2 separate regions of the Homo sapiens genome follow, and region 1 is linked to region 2. Evidence: promoter capture Hi-C in human tissues and cell types (Jung and others, 2019). All regions are on one chromosome and are shown on one strand. The core of a region is centred on a gene start or on the middle of the fragment in contact, and the rest is flanking DNA. Distances in the headings are between cores, read along the strand shown. Region 1 overlaps LOC105378675 (a long non-coding RNA gene). Region 2 holds the start of ZFP69 (ZFP69 zinc finger protein).

What was found. Contacts are between HindIII fragments. The study calls those that stand out against the background at their distance.
Region 1: a fragment that was not itself captured here is called in contact with the fragment with the promoter of ZFP69 in region 2 in 1 of the 25 tissues and cell types used here (pancreas).

The regions. Positions count from the first base shown.
Region 1 is chr1:40,666,726-40,669,712 of GRCh38, forward strand. It overlaps LOC105378675 (a long non-coding RNA gene), which reads left to right. Exons shown (of 2, transcript XR_947238.3): 2 at 1-951. It also overlaps a transcript of RIMS3 not described here. Among named protein-coding and RNA genes, the nearest start is that of RIMS3, 2.5 kb to the left of the region's middle. RefSeq lists enhancers at 2,186-2,335, 2,396-2,445. The HindIII fragment of the contact is 3,607 bases long and covers 1-2,987 here.
Region 2 is chr1:40,475,723-40,478,573 of GRCh38, forward strand. It overlaps ZFP69 (ZFP69 zinc finger protein), which reads left to right and starts at 1,568. Exons shown (of 6, transcript NM_001320179.2): 1 at 1,568-2,172. RefSeq lists a silencer at 1,307-1,776. The HindIII fragment of the contact is 19,716 bases long and covers 1-2,851 here.

The DNA.
Region 1 (2,987 bases), core at 299-2,798, 190 kb after region 2:
TGAATTAAAATGTAAATGGGAGCTGGGTGCGGTGGCTCATGCCTGTACCAGTGTTTTGGGAGGCCAAGGTGGGTGGATTGCTTGAGGCTGGGAGTTCGAGATCAACCTGGCCAACATGGTGAAACCCCATCTCTACTAAAAATACAAAAATTAGCCAGGTGTGGTGGCACACAACTATAGTCCCAGCTACTCGGGAGGCTGAGGTACGAGAATCACTTGAACCCAGGAGGCGGAGGTTGCAGTGAGCCGAGGTCGCACCACTGCACTCCAGCCTGAGTGACAGGGGGAACTCTGTCTCAAAAAAAAGTAAATGGGGAGTGGGAAGGTGGGGAGAAAAAGGAAAATTATTGGGATTAAAGGATCCTCCTGGGGATTGCTAGGAGGCATAGTCATCCTACGCCTTCCCTTCTCACCTGGTCTGTGAGAAGCATAAACTGAGGCCCTACAATGTGAAAAGCCTCAAAGTGCGTTCCATAGCTGGTCAGAGGTGGAGCTGGGGCTCCTGATTATATTTACATATTAATTAAAGCTTTGTTATCAGCTATTCTACCTCAGGCCTAGGCCTGGACTAGGGCCTGGGTGGTAGAATGGGTTACTCTGGAGCAGCAAGGGGGACTAGATTAGGGGAGGTGGGATGGAGGCCAGGGCAGGACCTGGAACGAGGGTGGAGGTGAGGGGTGGGAGCACAGAGAGGAATCAGGCTTCCTGTGTGCTCCTCCCTGGCCCCTTTCACAGAGACAGGTAAACCAGGGGTTCCCTTTGCACATCTGATGAAAACTTAGCACTATCTCTCTGGAGATGTGCAATGTATATTTTGCATATAATTTCAGTATCTTCAAAGTTCTATATTGGTTACCAGAAGGACTGGATGGGAGGTGGGTGGAGAGGGGGTTGATTCTTAAGTGTATATAGAAGAATAAACATACAGGAATAAAAAGTCCAGGAAGAAAAGTAATGAAAAGGGATTTGTCTTACCCGATACTAAAACATACTATAAAGTCAATGTATTTAAAGCAGTATGGTATTGAAGCAGGACTAGACCGATCTGTGGAACAAAATGGAGTATGGAAATGGATCCAGCCCCACAAGGGAATTCAATGTATGATAAAGATAGCACTTCAGGCCCGGCACAGTGGCTCATGCCAGTAATCCCAAAACTTTGGGAGGTTGAGGCGGGCAGATCACTTGAGACTAGCCTGGGCAACATGGCAAAACTTTGTCTCTATAAAAAAATACAAAACTTGTGGCCGGGGGCGGTGGCTCACACCTGTAATCCCAGCACTTTGGGAGGCCGAGGCAGGCGGATCACAAGATCAAGAGATTGAGACCATCCTAGCCAACATGGTGAAACCCTGTCTCAACTAAAAATACAAAAATTAGCTGGGTGTGGTGGCATGCACCTGTAGTCCCAACTACTTGGGAGACTGAGGCAGGAGAATCGCTTGAACCCAGGAGGCGGAGGTTGCAGTGAACTGAGATCGCACCACTGCACTCCAGCCTGGTAACAGAGCAAGACTCTGTCTCAAAAAAAAAAAAAAAAAAAAAATTTATCTGGGCATGATTGCACACACCTGTAGTCCCAGCTACCAGGGAGGCTGAAGTGGGAGGATTACCTGAGCCTGGGAGGTCAAGGCTGCAGTGAGCTGTGATCACGCCACTGCACTCCAGCCTGGGCAACAGAGCAAGACCTTGTCTCTAAATGAATGAATGAATAAAAGACAGCACTTCAGACAAATGGGGGGCGGAGTTGGTAGGGGGTTGTGGGCGGGGGGGGGGGGGTTGGTGGCGGAGATCAAATGGGTGGAATAACCAGCAAGTCTTTTGGGGAAATTACAAAAAGCTGTGCCCTTATTCGACACTGAAATAAATTCCAGGTGGACCACATATTTAACACCATAATGTATCAGAAAAAAGACATGAGTGAATATTTTAATAATCTTGGAGATGGAAAAGACTTTCTAAGCATGATGAAACCTAGAAGCCATAAGAGAAAACATGGAAATGTTTGACTACAAGGCTTCTATACAGAAGAAATGGCCATAAGTCAGTTTGAAAGACAAATGACAAAACGGAGGGGATATATCCTGGTTGCCCCCTACCCTGTCCCCTCCTGCCCGCCAGCCCCTCCAAGCCGAGACGGGGACGAGCAGGAGGGATGGCTGGGGCTGTGAGAGTCGAGACCGAGCACCTGGCAGAGGCTTCTCCTGCGGCGCTCTGGCCAGCGCCCACATGTTTAGGGGCCGGGAAGTCCCGGAAACCCCAGGCGGGCCATCTGGGTCCTCAGCAGGTGCCTTGGCACAGCCGAGCCGAAGTCCTCCTGGAGGCTGCTCACCACTTCCCTCGCGTGGCCATCCTAAGAACTGCAATCCTCTGTTCCTGCTCAGCCCCTTCTGAGCATCAAGGCGAGAATTTAAAAATAAATAAATAACAGCTAATTTTTTGAGGGAACTAACCATGTTCCAGGCATTGTGTTAAACACTTAACCTAGCATATTTCATTTTCCCCTCAAAACAGCTCTTCGAGGTAGGTGCACTGTATTCTTATCTCCATTTGATGGACGGAAACTGAGGCTTGAAAAAAGTGACTTGTCTTTCTAAGTGGTGGCACCAGAATTTACTGCCACATTCCTGGCCTCAGCTCTTAATGTAATAAAGCCAAACCTTTGGGAAAATTCAATAAAACAAACTTTTTTGAGGTTTACCTTTATCCAGGCCTTTTGCAGGTGCTGGGGATTCTGAATTGAGGAAAATAGTCATCAGAGGTGACAGCAGAGGAACACTCCTGATACAGCGAATCCTGATGGCTACAGAGGACTCATTCACCCCAGGAAGCGGTGGGGGCAGTGGGGAGGGATCCCAGAGGAGACGTCCTCCAAGCTGCATCTTGTGGAGAGAGAGTAGTGGGGTGGCACTTACTAAGGTGGGCTGGATGACAAGTGGGGCTTGGGGGAGGAGCAGTGATCTATATGCTCTGAGTTTGGGGGTAGA
Region 2 (2,851 bases), core at 318-2,817:
TTTTCCTAAAAACTCTAATAGGTAAGCAAGAAAATATACATATGTTTTAAGCCAGGGTCTTGCTCTGTCACCCAGGCTGAAGGGCAGTGGTATGATCGTGACTTACTGCAGCATCAACCTGCTGGGCTCAAGCGATCCTCCCATCTCAGCCTCTTGAAGAGCTGGGACTTCAGGGCTGTGCCACCATACCTGGCTAATTTTTGATATTTTGTAGAGACAGGGTTTTGCCATGTTGCCCAGGCTGGTCTTGAACTCCCGAGCTCAAGCAATCCACCTGCCTTGGCCTCCCAAAGTGCTGGGATTATAGACATAAACCACTGTGTCCAGCCCAAGAAAATATTATTTTGCGGTTTGCATCAAATAATTCTAAAAGCAGTTGTTTCTGCAGGTCTATTTCCAATGTTTGTGTTTCTGCTGGTTCTCACTAAGAATCTAGTTTCTTTGTGTACCTGGTTATCTTTAATTCTGTATTTGACATTGTCTATGAAAACTTATGTGTAGGAAAAATGTCGGCCCTACAATTATAAGGCTTTCCTCCACCTATTTGCTTTTGCCAAGCATCTGGTGACACCATAGTCAGAGACAGTCTTAAACCAAGATAATGTCTGAGACAGGCAATTTGATGCAGTCTGTAAATTCCTTTTAAGCTGTTCCATTTTCAATTCATCCTCACCCTGAGGCTGTTGCCCTTTGGGGTCCCAGTTATTGTAAGGAGGGTCTTCTTCTTCTTCTTCTTTTTTTTTTTTTTTTGAGATGGAGTTTTGCTCTTGTCGCTCAGGCATGGAGAAACCCCATCTCTACTAAAAATACAAAATTACAGGCATGGTGATGCGTGCCTGTAATCCCAGCTACTCTGGAGGCTGAGGCAGGAGAATCACTTGAACCCGGGAGGCAGAGGTTGCGGTGAGCCAACATCGCGCCACTGCACTCCAGCTTGGGCAACAAGAGCGAAACTCCGTCTCAAAAACAAATTTATATATTATATATATATGTATATATATATACACATACACACACACACACACACACACGTATTCCAGAATTTTATTTTTAAATTTTATTGTTGTTTTCTACAGTGGGTTGATACAAATATCCTAGCCCATCATCTCCCCACCCTGCTTTCCTTTTCTTCATGGTCCTCACAATCGCCTGGGGTATTATCTATTTATTTTTCTATTTGTTATTGTCAATTAATTTCAATGTAATTAAGTTCCAAGAAAGCAGGAACTGCGTTTTGTTAACTGCTGTATACGCAGGGCCAATAAGAATGTGGGGGTAGATCTTACACACTCAGAATAGATAACTGAATGAATGAATGAATGAATGAGTGAATGAATGAATGACAGGGAAGGCGCTTCACCGGAAAGGCTGAAGGAGGTCTCCCAAGGACCGCTGTGAGGAAACGGGGGGCGGCGTGGGTGGGTGGCCGCTACCCACGGTTCCGGACGGCCCTCGGGGGCGCGCTCGGGCGGCTTCCAGCTTCCGGGTTCGAGGGCGCGCGCTGCTTCCCGGGAGAGGGCGGGCTCCGTGGCAGCCCCCTGTGGGCGGAGCCGGCGGCCGGGGCTCACAACCCGCCGGAAGACGCGCGGGTTGTGGCAGCTGCAGCGGGACCGCGTGGGGTGGGCCCCGGGACCGCCAGGGCTGCAGCGAGAGCGGCCGGCGGTGCAAGCGGCCGGGAGGGCGCGGCCGGAGGCAGAGGCCAGGCGAGACACCCGGCTGCGGCCTAAGAGGCCAGGCTGGGTGGGCTTGGCTGCAGCCGCCAGCCCCGTGTTAAAGCGGCAGCCAGGGAGGTGTATCCTCCCCGGGGTCTGCAAGACGCCGGCTCAGGGCATCCCTCCCATTCCGGCCCTCAAAGCCTCGCTCCTGGGGGCGCTGCTGGGAAAGCCCACCCGCCTGGGCGGGCCCTTGATGGGAATGTGGAGCAGACCCTCGTCCACTCCGGAGGCCGAGGGTCCTCCGGGCTTCCGAAGGAAGCCGACCTCAACGCTGGACGCTTCTTGGAGAATGATTGCGTTGAGTGGAGATGTGGTCTGTCTATAAAAGGCCGGGAGGGAACAATATCTGTTACCACTCAGTCCGTCTCTAAAGAGACACTCTTTACCGCTGAAAACCTCAAGAGTGAGCACTCCCACGCCCCCGTCTCTGGTCCTACCTGGGTCCAAGGCCGATGTGGTGAGTAGGAGTCTGTGTGCAGTCTTTGAGTCCGAGGGTGGCATGTCTGGGAGCACTGTGAGGGTGGGGCATCTTCGATATGAAGCTTCTCAGCCATTAACTGTTTCCCGAGTAAGATTCGAAAATTCGTGCACTTTGGTAACAAGACTTTTTATGTATTCAGGGGTGGGATATTTCTCACAAGCTCCAATTCCTAGAACACACGCAGCTCCTGTCTCTGCATATAGTCACACACACACACACACACACACACACGCCTATAAGTCACATACCCATCCTTCTCCAACAAACTTCAAAAAGTTGGGCCAGCTCCCTTCCCACGTAGCTCCGACTGTTCTTGGAGTGCCGTATACTTTGGACCTGGTCACGGTCAAAGCACCTGCTCAGATTCTAGGGTTTGGTTGAGATGATGGATTTGAGTTGTTTCCAAATTTGCCTATTACTATTCTGCAGTAGTCCTCATTATACTAAATTTACACCATTTGAAGACATACCCTCTTCCCCAATTTTAACATTTCTGAAACCAAGATGCATCTTCCCAGTGTGGTTCCAAGGAACTTGCCAGCTGCTGGGCATCTGCGTGGGTGGTGACGTGGCTGTCACTGCTTGTTCATGCCAAAATGCAGCTATGTCATTATTCTGTCAGTTGAGATATTTTGAACTTTAAATTCAGATTTAA